3 separate regions of the Homo sapiens genome follow, and regions 1 and 3 are each linked to region 2. Evidence: promoter capture Hi-C in 16 types of primary human blood cells and fetal thymus (Javierre and others, 2016). All regions are on one chromosome and are shown on one strand. Each heading gives the region's core, a stretch centred on a gene start or on the middle of the fragment in contact. The rest is flanking DNA. Distances are from core to core; before and after follow the strand shown. Region 1 overlaps FOXC2 (forkhead box C2). Region 2 holds the start of KLHDC4 (kelch domain containing 4). Region 3 holds the start of MTHFSD (methenyltetrahydrofolate synthetase domain containing).

Evidence for each region. The method cuts DNA at HindIII sites, captures the fragments that hold promoters and counts their contacts. A CHiCAGO score of 5 or more calls a contact.
Region 1: a fragment that was not itself captured here is called in contact with the fragment with the promoter of KLHDC4 in region 2 in 3 of 17 cell types (naive CD8 T cells, total CD4 T cells and naive CD4 T cells); the score reaches 14.1 in naive CD8 T cells.
Region 3: a fragment that was not itself captured here is called in contact with the fragment with the promoter of KLHDC4 in region 2 in 8 of 17 cell types (naive CD8 T cells, total CD4 T cells, naive CD4 T cells and 5 more); the score reaches 18.6 in naive CD8 T cells.

The regions. Positions count from the first base shown.
Region 1 is chr16:86,567,516-86,571,948 of GRCh38, forward strand. FOXC2 (forkhead box C2) reads left to right here. Exons shown (of 1, transcript NM_005251.3): 1 at 1-2,213. The coding sequence ends at 1,326. FOXC2-AS1 (FOXC2 antisense RNA 1) reads right to left here and starts at 246. Exons shown (of 2, transcript NR_125795.1): 1 at 102-246. RefSeq lists enhancers at 1-33, 34-617, 2,826-3,327. The HindIII fragment of the contact is 964 bases long and covers 2,119-3,082 here.
Region 2 is chr16:87,763,504-87,768,345 of GRCh38, forward strand. KLHDC4 (kelch domain containing 4) reads right to left here and starts at 2,483. Exons shown (of 12, transcript NM_017566.4): 1 at 2,289-2,483. The coding sequence starts at 2,387. It overlaps LOC105371399 (a long non-coding RNA gene), which reads left to right and starts at 2,538. Exons shown (of 3, transcript XR_933871.3): 1 at 2,538-2,838. It overlaps LOC102724467 (a long non-coding RNA gene), which reads right to left. Exons shown (of 4, transcript NR_120309.1): 4 at 2,828-2,921. RefSeq lists enhancers at 1,771-2,395, 2,379-2,438, 2,519-2,578. The HindIII fragment of the contact is 5,415 bases long and covers 224-4,842 here.
Region 3 is chr16:86,552,199-86,556,590 of GRCh38, forward strand. It overlaps MTHFSD (methenyltetrahydrofolate synthetase domain containing), which reads right to left and starts at 3,037. Exons shown (of 8, transcript NM_001159377.2): 1 at 2,971-3,037; 2 at 2,447-2,553. The coding sequence starts at 2,986. FLJ30679 (a long non-coding RNA gene) reads left to right here and starts at 3,122. Exons shown (of 1, transcript NR_026674.1): 1 at 3,122-4,392. RefSeq lists enhancers at 644-1,308, 1,309-1,971, 2,940-2,989, 3,030-3,319 and a silencer at 2,894-3,107. The HindIII fragment of the contact is 4,750 bases long and covers 1-4,208 here.

The DNA of each region.
Region 1 (4,433 bases), core at 1,351-3,850, 1.2 Mb before region 2:
CACCACCAGCCCGCGGCGCCTAAGGACCTGGTGAAGCCGCCCTACAGCTACATCGCGCTCATCACCATGGCCATCCAGAACGCGCCCGAGAAGAAGATCACCTTGAACGGCATCTACCAGTTCATCATGGACCGCTTCCCCTTCTACCGGGAGAACAAGCAGGGCTGGCAGAACAGCATCCGCCACAACCTCTCGCTCAACGAGTGCTTCGTCAAGGTGCCCCGCGACGACAAGAAGCCCGGCAAGGGCAGTTACTGGACCCTGGACCCGGACTCCTACAACATGTTCGAGAACGGCAGCTTCCTGCGGCGCCGGCGGCGCTTCAAAAAGAAGGACGTGTCCAAGGAGAAGGAGGAGCGGGCCCACCTCAAGGAGCCGCCCCCGGCGGCGTCCAAGGGCGCCCCGGCCACCCCCCACCTAGCGGACGCCCCCAAGGAGGCCGAGAAGAAGGTGGTGATCAAGAGCGAGGCGGCGTCCCCGGCGCTGCCGGTCATCACCAAGGTGGAGACGCTGAGCCCCGAGAGCGCGCTGCAGGGCAGCCCGCGCAGCGCGGCCTCCACGCCCGCCGGCTCCCCCGACGGCTCGCTGCCGGAGCACCACGCCGCGGCGCCCAACGGGCTGCCTGGCTTCAGCGTGGAGAACATCATGACCCTGCGAACGTCGCCGCCGGGCGGAGAGCTGAGCCCGGGGGCCGGACGCGCGGGCCTGGTGGTGCCGCCGCTGGCGCTGCCCTACGCCGCCGCGCCGCCCGCCGCCTACGGCCAGCCGTGCGCTCAGGGCCTGGAGGCCGGGGCCGCCGGGGGCTACCAGTGCAGCATGCGAGCGATGAGCCTGTACACCGGGGCCGAGCGGCCGGCGCACATGTGCGTCCCGCCCGCCCTGGACGAGGCCCTCTCGGACCACCCGAGCGGCCCCACGTCGCCCCTGAGCGCTCTCAACCTCGCCGCCGGCCAGGAGGGCGCGCTCGCCGCCACGGGCCACCACCACCAGCACCACGGCCACCACCACCCGCAGGCGCCGCCGCCCCCGCCGGCTCCCCAGCCCCAGCCGACGCCGCAGCCCGGGGCCGCCGCGGCGCAGGCGGCCTCCTGGTATCTCAACCACAGCGGGGACCTGAACCACCTCCCCGGCCACACGTTCGCGGCCCAGCAGCAAACTTTCCCCAACGTGCGGGAGATGTTCAACTCCCACCGGCTGGGGATTGAGAACTCGACCCTCGGGGAGTCCCAGGTGAGTGGCAATGCCAGCTGCCAGCTGCCCTACAGATCCACGCCGCCTCTCTATCGCCACGCAGCCCCCTACTCCTACGACTGCACGAAATACTGACGTGTCCCGGGACCTCCCCTCCCCGGCCCGCTCCGGCTTCGCTTCCCAGCCCCGACCCAACCAGACAATTAAGGGGCTGCAGAGACGCAAAAAAGAAACAAAACATGTCCACCAACCTTTTCTCAGACCCGGGAGCAGAGAGCGGGCACGCTAGCCCCCAGCCGTCTGTGAAGAGCGCAGGTAACTTTAATTCGCCGCCCCGTTTCTGGGATCCCAGGAAACCCCTCCAAAGGGACGCAGCCCAACAAAATGAGTATTGATCTTAAAATCCCCCTCCCCTACCAGGACGGCTGTGCTGTGCTCGACCTGAGCTTTCAAAAGTTAAGTTATGGACCAAATCCCATAGCGAGCCCCTAGTGACTTTCTGTAGGGGTCCCCATAGGTGTATGGGGGTCTCTATAGATAATATATGTGCTGTGTGTAATTTTAAATTTCTCCAACCGTGCTGTACAAATGTGTGGATTTGTAATCAGGCTATTTTGTTGTTGTTGTTGTTGTTCAGAGCCATTAATATAATATTTAAAGTTGAGTTCACTGGATAAGTTTTTCATCTTGCCCAACCATTTCTAACTGCCAAATTGAATTCAAGAAACCGATGTGGGTTTTGTTTCCTGTACAATTATGAGATATAATTCTTTTTCCCATTGTAGGTCTTTTACAAAACAAGAAAATAATTTATTTTTTTGTTGGTGGATAAAGAAGTCAAGTATCTGATACTTTTTATTTACAAAGTGTGATGGTTTTGTATAGTAGGTTCCACCCTGAGTATTCCTAAAAGAAAAAAAAAAAAAAAGCTTAAAAACTCTAACTTCATCTGTGTTTGTCTTACGTGGTCTTAATCGTTGTACTTACCTTAAAATAAACCCATGTTGTTTTTTCTGCCCAAAGTTTGGACAGTGTGTTTGTGTTGTTGCATTTTTTACAAACGAGGTGTGTTTGCAAACCCACCTGCTTTGATTATTTTTGTTACACAGGTGGGTATATGTGTAGACACATAAAAACGACCAGAGAATAGGAGCACACACCTGCTGTCTTGTTTAGTGACAGAAAAAGGCTTTTGATTAATTTTAAAATCCCACTCTAGGATTTTTTCTTTTCGAGAAACCGCCCAGTTGGAGGGGGCTGCCTGAAGGACCGGACCATGAGTTTGCCGTGATGCATTTTCTTAAATGCACAAAAACATGCTAATTGTCAAAACAAACAGTGCCACTCCATCTCAGTGTCCAGCCGTCCCCAGTTTAGGAGGTGAAGGAAGGGAAGAATAAACATTTCCCGTTTGCTAACTGCAACCCAGGGTGAGTCCTGCTTTCCCCCGATTTTATAAAATTTGAGCCTCTTTGCCTGCTTTAATAGTTTTCCAGAGAATTTGAACTGGGCCAATGAAGGTCTGAAGGGGACGGATTTTCTAGCGTTTGATATCCATCCCCCTTAGCGGCCAGATCAGAGGGGAATTTCAGACTTTATTACTTCTCAATGTCATGTCTAAATCTACACCCTCATCGCAGTGAAAAATTTTAAAACCTCATTACCCTTCAAAAATAATTTATGATATTTTTAGAGTTCTAAATTCAAGTTTTTCAATATGTTAAATAATAGAGATTATTTTTTGTTTTCAATGTTAATATCTCGTCTTTTACATTTTTAATAGTAACATAGTTTTTGTGAAATGTAGCTGACGAAATGGCTTTATTATCTATTTCAATGGCTGAAGTCCACCACTCCCCTGCTGGCCTCTATGTGTGAATTTGGGGACCAAAGCTTCATCAATTCCCACCCCAGCAGGTGAGCTGTACCTTGCTAATGCTGAAGTTCTTTGTGAGCTTAACGTTTCAAGACCAGATGATTTTGCTAAAGGTGATTTTGCTTGATGCAGTGGCGCTGAACGTAACCCGGGTGTTTTTCTTGTTGTTTTCAACATGGCACTTTATCTCCACGCTATGTTGAAATAGAATTAGGGGAAGCTTAAAGCATAATAATTTTCCCCACATGTGCAACACAGACTCTTTCAATCTGTGGCCCCAGAGGTGGCACACAGTTAAGACTTGGCGGCTGTCTCATTCTTTTTCATAATGTGCGGGTTCCCGGGTGTCCGGGTGCTAGACTTTCAGCAGGCCCCAGGCCAGACGGGCTTTGGTTGAGTGAACAGGAGGAGGAAGTTAAGGAGGTAGGGGTGGGGAGAGACCCTCTCCAAGCTGCAGAAGAAGGTGGCCCAAGCTCCTTGCCTGCGTCTGCCGTGATGGTTTCATTTTACTTCTGCTCGCTTCATGCTATTTGCCCCAGGAGAAGAGGAGAGTATTCCAGACGGTAAGCGAGCTGGCTTTTTCCCTTCCCTAGACGTTTTAAAGAAATCTTTCTGAAAGCTTGCCCTCATCGTAAGCTTTGAAACCGTTGGTGTCCTGTTAGTGGCGAGGCCTGAGAGACACACGGAAAATAAAGGAGAGCGACGGTGTGGCTGAGAGCCCCCAGCTCTGCTGTTGAAACTAAGCTGGGCTTTTGCACCTTTAGGAAGCCTTTTTAAAGAAGTCCTGCTGTGTGGGGGCCGGAAGCCCAAGTGAGTGGCCCTTGTGGAGGTTATCGGGAGGGGTTTTTTCCACTCCTTGGGGAACGTGGGCAACGGGGGGATTGTATCTGAAGCTTTATTCAGGTCTTCGGCGGCAGCAGAGTGGAGAACCAGGCCCTTAGTGTGTAGCGGCCTGGGGATTTTGGGACTCATCTGAGGGCCCTGTCACTCAAGGTTTCCTCGTTTCAGTGGGGACAGGGATAGGTGCGGTAAGTGCTAGAAGGCCGGTGGCCCCTTGTGCTGTGAGCTGGCTCAGAGCTCTGTGCAGCCCCTGTCTTCTGCAACCCCTGCGTCCTGCAGTGCCTGTGTGGACCTCAGGCCTGGGGGCTTAATGGCCTCTGGGGCATCTGTTGCTCTCCCAGCAGAGTGGGAAGATTCCACAGCACGTGCTGTGAATAGCCAACGTTCTCACCAACAGTTTTGCATCTTGGCAGCCACCCTGCTCGTCTGCTGCCCAGTGTACAAAAAGTACGTGCCCGGGGCATTGGCTATTCTTGATTCACTCATCTACCACCTTTTCCTGTTGCCTTCTGGTCCTCAGGAGGTT
Region 2 (4,842 bases), core at 1,233-3,732:
CTGAGGCAGGAGAATTGCTTGAGCCTGGGAGGCAGAGGTTGCAATGAGCTGAGATCATGCCACTGCGACACTTGCTCTGGGTGACAGAGCAGGACTCCATCTCAAAAAAAATAAAAAATAAAATGTCATTAAATGGTATCATACTGTATATTCTTTCAACTTGCTTTTTTTGCTCAACGAGGTTAAACAAACAGTTCAAATACTAACGTCTATGTACCGCGAAAGCTTTGCTGCTGCTACTTAGAGCGGTCTTTGACCTTGGCTGAACCTCATCATCATTGGGTGACTGAAGGAGAGCAAGGTGGTAGGGTCTGGGTGACGCCAGTGGCCTAGCCAGTGACAGCCTCTCCAAAGTGACAATAAGCTGAATGCTGAAAAGACGACTCAGACGGAGTATGGTTGGGGTATAGGTAAGACCACAGACACAACTTGCCATGTTTGAGACACTAAAAGACACTGTGGCTGGAGTGAGCCCAGGGAGACAGCTGGAAAGACAGGCAGAGGCCAGGACTAAGTGAAGGTGCGAACCAGGTGACCTGATACATGAGTTCTGTGGGAGCAGAATTCCAAACTGTCCCCAATCCTTCCCCCAATAATTGCCAGGACTGTGAAAGAATGGGATACCACTCTTGTGATTAGGTTGTATTACAGACACAGCTGAATTTAAGAAAGAGATGATCCTCTGTGGGTCTAGCCTAATCAGACGCCCACTTATTTTAAAAGTTTGTTTTGAGGGTTCATTCAGATAACATACAAACCCCAGGCCTGACAGGCTCTCTCTCTTAAGGGAAGCTACTGTTACAATCACCTTAGTATTGGGTACTGGAGGGAGACATGGAGATGAGTAAAAATGACAGGTAACTGGCGGGGCAAGGTGGCTTACGGCTTGTAATCCCAGCACTTTGGGAGGCCGAGGCGAGCGCATCACCTGAGGTCAGGAGTCCCAGACCAGCCTGACCAAAACGGTGAAACCCGGTCTCTATTAAAAATACAAAATTAGCTGGGTGTGGTGGTGCATGCCTGTAATCTCAGCTACTTGGGAGGCTGAGGCAGGAGAACCACTTGAACCTGGGAGGCGGAGGTGCAGTGAGCTGAGATCGCACCATTGCACTCCACCCTGGGCAACAAGAGTGAAACTCCTTCAAAAAAAAAAAAAAAAAAAAAAAAAAAAAGCAGAAAGCAGCTAACAGCTGGTTACTGAGTGCTTACTTTCTGCCAAGCACCATTCTGAAGATACCACACAGATGAACTGACTTCCTGTGCCACAACCCTAGCCAGCAGGTCATGCCACTGCAGCCCAGCCTAGGTGACAGAGCAAGACTCTGTCAAAAAAAAAAAAAAAAAAAAGAAAGAGCCTAAGAGGAGTGTGAGGGAAAAGTCCAACTCCATTATTTAAGAGATGAGGACATGGAGAGATCAATGACTTAGGAAGAAAAGGGACAAAGGACTGTGGTCAAGAGCTCCTGATTCAGGACATCTGGTCACATCCCAGTTCCATACCACTTCATGGTTCACCTGTTGGTCTTCCTGTCAAATGGGAATACCAGTGCTACGGAACTGACCTGCTCGTGAGGAGTAAAGCCCAGGGAGCTGTGCCTGGCGCACGGCAGGCCATAAAACTGGCCCCGGTTAGGGAATCCATGAGCAGCAGCCGCAGAACACTCAACCCCAAGGTCAGGACGGATCCTCCTGCAGACCCCGGGCTGAGGACCAGAGGGAAGGAGACAACCGTGATGGCCGCCATCAGCTGCTACGGGATACCCCGTGGCTCCAGTGCCTTCTTCACTTAACCATCTGCTGCTCACTGCTCAGGGCTGCTGTGATGATTATTTGCCCTCTTTTGAAAGAAAAGTAAGGTTCAGAAAAGTTAAGAGTCTTACTCCCAGACCACACATCATGCAGAGGCAGCCCCCGGCTCAACCTCAGGTCTTCCTGTGCCAAACCCCTCCCTCTTCTCACCACCCAGCCTCCCTTCAGAGGGAGGGTGGAGGGAGAAGGGAGGAGGGGGAGGAAACGCAGAAAAACGCCCGTGACACCACACTAAGAAAAGCAAGCACGTTAAAGGGGGCAGCTCCGAGAAGCGGACAGACACACGTGGAGACTCAGGAGGGGGCGGGCCCCGTCTGGGCTGCCCGGACGCGGCGCCGGGGCAGTTCCTACGGCCTCCAGCTCTCCCGCAGGGCCGGCGCGGCTCCCACGGCCGACCCGTAACCCCGGGGGGCGCAGGGAGTCGGCCGAGGCTGCACGGCCGCGACGTCGGGCCGCTAAGCCCGGTCTGACCCGCTCACCTCCTCCTTCCGCGAGCGCTTAGACACCTTCTTCTCCATCTTGGCGGCCGTCTTCTCCGCGCCGCGGCCCTTCTTCTCCTTCTTGCCCTTCTTGCCCATCTTGCCGGGTCCCAAGCCGCGACGGGACACCAGGAAAGAAAACGGCCCGCGCTCTCCGCTCGGAAACAGGTGCTCGTGGGGCGGAGCTCGGCGCACAGAAATGGAGTCACTTCCGGCCCCGAGTTCGAGCCGCTTCCGGGTAGAGGTGCGGCTGGGCCCTTTACGAGGTTCGGTCTTGGAGCTCCGTCTTCGGCAGCGGGCTCGGGGGCCTCGGACTCTGCATAAGGCCCCGGAAAAGATGACCGGCCCCGGGCTGGGCGCGGTGGCTCATGCCTGTAACCCTGGAGCTTTGGGAGGCCTTGGCGGGCGGATCGCTTGAGTCCAGGAGTTCGAGATCAGCCTGGGCAACAAAGCGAGACACCACCCCCCACCCCCAGTCGCTACAGAAGAAAAAAAAAAAAATTAACCGGGCGTGGTGTCTCGCGCCCAGTGGTCCTAGCTCCTCGGGAAGGTGAGGCGGGAAGATCGCTTGAGTCAAGGAGTTCCAGGCAGCAATGCGCCCCTGCACCCCAACCTGGGCGACAGAGCGAGATCCTGTTTCAAAAAACAAAAAAGATGGCAGCCCCGGCCTGACATACCCCGGCCATGCTCGCCAATTCTCACGCCCTGTGCCCCCACCTAGCCTGTCCCCGTGTCCTAGGAGACGTGCCCTCTGAGTTTTATTTTTTATTTCTATTTTTTTGAGGCAGGGTCTTGCTCTGTCGCCCAGGCTGGAGTGCGGTAGCGCGATCTCGGCTCGCTGTAACCTCCGCCTCTGGAGTAGCTGGGACCACAGGAGCCCACCACGCCCGGCTCATTTTCTCTTGAGTTTTCCGGGGTGCACGTGCCCCCCGTTAAGGCACATTGCTTCGCCCTGGGTAGAACTAAGTGGGCGACTCTTGGGCTAGCCCCATTTTTTCCCCTCAGACCAAACAAATGAGTGCTTTTTTCCCAGAAAAAAAATTTCACACAGTTATAAGATTTTGCAGATCCTGAGTAAGACAGTCCCTGCCGGGCGCGGTGGCTCACGCCTGTAATCCCAGCACTTTGGGAGGCCGAGGTGAGTGGATCACGAGGTCAGGAGTTCGAGACCAGCCTAGCCAACATGGTGAAACCCCCGTCTCTACTAAAACTACAAAAATTAGCCAGGCGTGGTGGTGGGCACCTGTAATCCCAGCTACTTGGGAGGCTGAGGCAGGAGAATTGCTTGAACCCAGGGGGCAGAGGTTGCAATGAGCTGAGATCAAGCCACTTCACTCCAGCTTGGGCAAAAGAGCAAAATTCCATCTTAAAAAAAAAAAAAAATGGGGGGGCCCTTCCACCTTCCCATTTAAAATGTGCCAGACACTGTTAGGTACTAAGGGCATGTCCTCAAATGTCCTAACATGGAGGACTTTTGTTTCTTCATAGGTAGGCTAGAGCTAATGATAGCACCCTGAAAGGGTACTCAATTTGTGGAGCCTGAGAAATAAAGATAGGTAATATCCAAATGCCTGCTAGGAAATTGTACTCTAGGATTTGCCTCAAATTACGTAAGAAATGGCAAAATCATCTGCAGTGCATGGAATGTTATGATTTGAAAGAGCAGAGTAAAAATGCTTATCACTACTTAGAAGATGTCATCTTTGGATGGGTAATCAAGGAATAAGGCAAATTAAGGACAAGGACAAGCCAAAATTTGGCAAAGGGAAAGCATAAATCAGGAAATAATCTAGTTTATTACTTTGTGTGTGAGTCAGCCTTTAAAAGTTCTCTTAGGCCAGGCGTGGTGGTTCATTCCTGTAATCCCAGCACTTTGGGAGGCTGAAGCGGGCTGATCACGAGGTCAGGAGTTCAAGACCAGCCTGGCCAATATGGTGAAACCCTGTCTCCACTAAAAATACAAAAAAAAAAAAAAAAATTAGCCAGGTGTGGTGGCACCCACCTGTAGTCCCAACTATTCAGGAGGCTGAGGCAAAAGAATCATTTGAACCTAGGCGGCAGAGGTTGCAGTGAGCGGAGATTGCACCACTGCACTCCAGCCTGGGCGACAAAGCAAGACTCCATCTCAAAAAAAAAAAAAAAAAAAGATGTTATCTTAGATCCAGCCAGGTGTGATGGCTCACGCCTGTAATCCTAGCACTTTGAGAGGCAGAGGCAGGCAGATCACCTGAGGTCAGGAGTTTGAGACCAGCCTGATCAACATGGTGAAACCCCATCTCCACTAAAAATACAAAATTAGACAGGCATGGTGGTGCGCACCTGTAATCCCAGCTACTCGGGAGGCTGAGTCAGGAGAATGGCTTGAGCCTGGGAGACAGAGGTTGCAGTGAGCCGAGACTGAACCACTGCACTCCAGCCTGGGCAACAGAGCTAGACTCCGTCTCAAAAAAAAAAAAAAAAAGAAGAAGTTAACTCGGCCAGGCGTAGTGGCTCACATCTGTAATCCCAGCACTTTGGGAGGCCAAGGTGGGCAGATCACGAGGTCAGGAGTTCA
Region 3 (4,392 bases), core at 584-3,083, 1.2 Mb before region 2:
CACTTTTCTGGGGGGCATCAGGATTTACTTTAATGGTCCTGGCCGTTTTGAACGCCTGCAAGCGTGGGAGTTGCTCGGCAGCATGAGAAGCGCCCTGTTTCCAATGCAATCGCACGTTACTGAAAGGACAGCACGCTCTCAGGCCAACTGCAGCCCAAGCAGCTCGGCCCAGAATCTCACCCAGACAGGCACTAACAGTCACCCAAAGAAACATCTAAGGAAGCAGTCTAAGTAAGGAAAGGGATTTGAGAAAAGTAGCCTAATCCCACTTGAGCTTTAACTGAAATGAAACATGCATTCCAAAAAGAATACAAATCCCAAGGGCAAAATTTGATGATTTTTCACAAAATGAAGGCTGCTGTGTAACCACCACCAAAATCAAGCAGTAGCATGACCTGGAAGCCCCCACCTCTCTCCTGTTTGATTCGTTTTTTAAAGATTTCTACATGATTCTCTACATCCTTCATCTTTACCTCTGTTAAGATACATTTCTCTCTCTGGGGTCAGAAGCATTAAAACAAAACACAGTAACAACAAAAAACCATCAAAAGATCAGTTTTTCAAAGGGACAGGACAGTCTTGGAACCACCTCAGCTGAGGACCAGGGAAGGTGGAGCTTGTTGTGGAGAAGCCAGGCTTGGGGAGAGGCAGTCCTGACAAAATGGGGTGAAGCAAGCCAACAGCTAAGTCCTTCAGGGCAGAGAGCATTTTTGAAAAGCGCTTTCTTTTGCTCTTGGAAAATAGGCATGTCAAAGATGATGAACTGCTGCATTGCCTCTTCCGAGTAACCTTTTTTTTTTCTGTCAACACTGTTAGGAACAGCCATCTTTGATTGTCTTACATTTTGATCAGCTGGGAAACTGAGGCCCAGCATCCTTAGGCTGGCAAGGCATTCATTTCTTTCCAAAGGCCTAGAGCCTGAACTTCCAGTTCAGTACCCCTTCATTCCCTAACGCTCTTAGCAGGGTCAATTTTGTGAAAAGCCATTACGACAATAACATGCTTCCGGCCAGGATAAATATTTTACTTTGTATCAAACAGAAAACAGCAACTAGCACCACCTTGAAAGGTGACAGCGTGCTGGCAGCCCTCGGTCCCTCTCGGCGCCTCCTCGGCCTTGGCGCCTACTCTGGCCGTGCTTGAGGAGCCCTTCATCCCGCAGCTGCACTGTGGGAGCCCCTTTCTGGACTGGCCCAGGCCGGCTCCCTCAGCTTGCTGGGCGGTGTGGAGGGAGAGGCGCGGGCGGGAACTGCTGCTGTGCATGGTGCTTGTGGGCCAGCGCGAGTTCCATGTAGGCGTGGGGAGCCCCGCACTCACAGCGGCTGGCCCTGGGCAGTGAGGGGCTTAGCACCTGGGCCACCAGCTGCTGTGCTCTATTTCTCGCCGGGCCTTAGCTGCCTCCCCAAGACCTGCAGCCTGCCATGCCTGAGCCTCCCCACCCCCACCGGCGGGCTCCTGTGCAGCTAGAGCCTCCCCGAGGAGCGACGCTCCTGCTCCACGGTGCCTGGTGCCATCCACTGCCCAACGGCTGAGGAGTGCGGGTGCACTGCACGGGACTGGCAGGCAGCTCCACCTGCAGCCCCAGTGCGGGATCTGCTGGGTGAAGTCAGCTGGGCTCCTGAGGCTGGTGGGGACTTGGAGAATCTTTATGTCTAGCTAAGGGATTGTAAACACACCAATCAGCACCCTGTGTCTAGCTCAGAGTTTGTGAATGCACCAATGGGCACTCTGTATGTAGCTAATCTAGTGGGGAGGTGGAGAACTTTTGTGTCTAGCTCAGGGATTGTAAACGCACCAATCAGCATCCTGTCAAAACGGACCAATCGGCTCTCTGTAAAATGGACCAATCAGCAGGATGTGGGTGGGGCCAGATAAGAGATTAAAAGCAGGCTGCCTGAACCAGCAGCAACAACCCTCTCCAATCCCCTTCCACATTGTGGAAGGTTTGTTCTTTGCAATAAATCTTGCTGCTGCTCATTCTTTGAGTCCACCCTGCCTTTGTGAGCTGCAACACTCTCTGCTAAGGTCTGCAGCTTCACTCCTGAAGCCAGCAAAGACCGTGAACCCACCAGAAGGAAGAAACTCTGAACACATCCAAACATCAGAAGGAACAAACTCCAGACACGCTGCCTTTAAAAACTGTAACACTCACTGCGAGGCTTCATTCTTGAAGTCAGTGAGACCAAGAACCCACCAATTCTGGACACAACCTCACCTAGAGACAACCAAACCACCCTGCACAGAGACGCAAGAGGCCCCAGGTGAAGAGTAAATGACGTCTCTAAATGCTAAGGACGCCCTGGCCAAATGGCTTTGATTTCACACCACTGCTCACTGCTCGCCACATTCTCATCCACCATGACGCAGTAAGAGAATTTTATTACTAGTGTTATTCATTTAAGAATATTTTGTTTTCCTTTTCTGGACTCCAGAAATATGTCAGTACCTTAAAGTTGGGTATCCTGTGATGAACAGGTCGGGGAAAGTCAGCTAAATTTTGTGATTCCATGTAGCCCCAAATTTGTTCACGTATGTCCTGTTTGGAGACACCTACTGCAACAAAAGATTCCCACTTAATAACATACAAAGGAATTCCAGAGCCCATGCTGAAACCGCTTAACAGTAGTTAAGCGACCCCCGCGTGTAGGTCAAACCGGCTTCCGATCCTGTTCCTGAGCCTCAGTTTCCCCGACCTCAAGGGGCCCACGGGCTCCCCCACGTGCACGGCAGGTGTCCCTCCCGCCTCGTCTTCTCGTTATCTTTATTTTTCCTGACATCTTTCTCGGGATTCCGGGCGAGAGAGCCGCTGGTTCGACCCGAACCCAGCACAGACCCCCTCTGACCTCCTCGGCCGCTTCCGGTGATTCTGCCCCATCCTCTGCCAGCCCCGGTGGCCCCGCCTCGACCCTCACCGGTCCCGGCTGTCCCTCCCCATTCCCAGCCGCCCCGGAGCCCCGCCAGGCCCCCCACCTGCCCTCGGCTCCATGGTGATGCAGTCGCTGTGCGACGCTTCCCGGCGCAGGTTCTGGCGCGTAGTGACGTCACCCGCTCCGCGCCTGCGCGATGGTAGGAGGGGCGGAGGCTGAGCGGGCGAGGCCCAGGCGCGCATGCTCGGGCGGGTAAAATCCGCGCCGGGGACAGTCAGGGATGCTCCCAGGCCCTTCGCTCTTGCTTTCAGCTAGTCATTGTCGAGCGCCGCCCGTGACAGGCGTTTTGCCAAGCCCTGGAGTTACTGAAGTGAACAAGTCCCTGGTCTCTCGGGACCCATTGCCGGTTGAAACACATCCCGCCTCCTCTTCCAGTCCTAGAGGCCGCCTCCTCCGGAAAGCCGGCCTTGATTGCTCCTCATGTAGGACGCGGTTCCCTCCTCTGAGATCCTGCAGACTCTCAGGTGCTCACACGTGGGTGTGCAGCGGATTCAGCCGGCAGCTCTTTAAAGCGGCAGGCAGATGGAAATTCGAGGCCAGCCCAGCCCCGGCGACTGCGCTGCGGACGGCCAGAGGCCATCCTTTGAGAAACACCCGTGGATTCTTACCCTGACCTCTGCATACCCTGAGAAAGAACGAACGTGGCAGCCTGCGTCTGCTTGTCTATGTCTTTCATGTTTGCTAACCTAAGGGTCGAGAAGCGGCTCGAGGAGACCAGGCTGCACAGACCGTCACGTCCATTCCCTCTCTGGCCCCAGCCCCGCGGGAAGAAAACGAGGGCGTTCAGCCTGGCAGTTCATTCACTTATTAGGAAGAAGACATCCCACACCCCCACCCAGCACACACACAGATGTCAGGGACCAGCCACTAGGAACCACTCCCTGAGCGAATGAAGGCATCCCCGTAGCCACGTGCCTGGTACATCACAAGCACTCAAAACGTGGCTGCCACCTTTCGAAATTGCATGCCCAAAACTTTATGAGATCCTCACAACACACTTGGGAAACAGACAAAAGAGTTTGAATGCCCGCCTACTTAACAGATACAGAAAATGGTGTTCCGTGTACAAGCGACTTACTCATGTCTGCTGGTAACTCATAATGTGCCGTTTGACCTCCTTAGGACATAATTAATAATGGTAATTAACAGTGCTACGATATGCCAGGCATTGAGCTTAGCGCCTTAAAAGTCATAGCTAACTATGTTTCACAGCAAACCCTCAGAGGCAAATGTGACCCGCCTCCTACGCAGGAGGCAACAGAGGCTCAGACATGTTAAAGAAGCTTGGCCTGAGTCTCCCAGCAGAGAAAGGGCAGAGCGTGTAGCCCTGACAACGTGCTTAATTGCAACTCCTGTGGGTCCCATCACAACTCTCTCTTCCTATGTGGTGTCCGCAACATTAATACATAGAGACACCGAGGAGCCTCAGTTCTGCTTGTGGGCGGGCCTGTCTTTCACCAGGCTG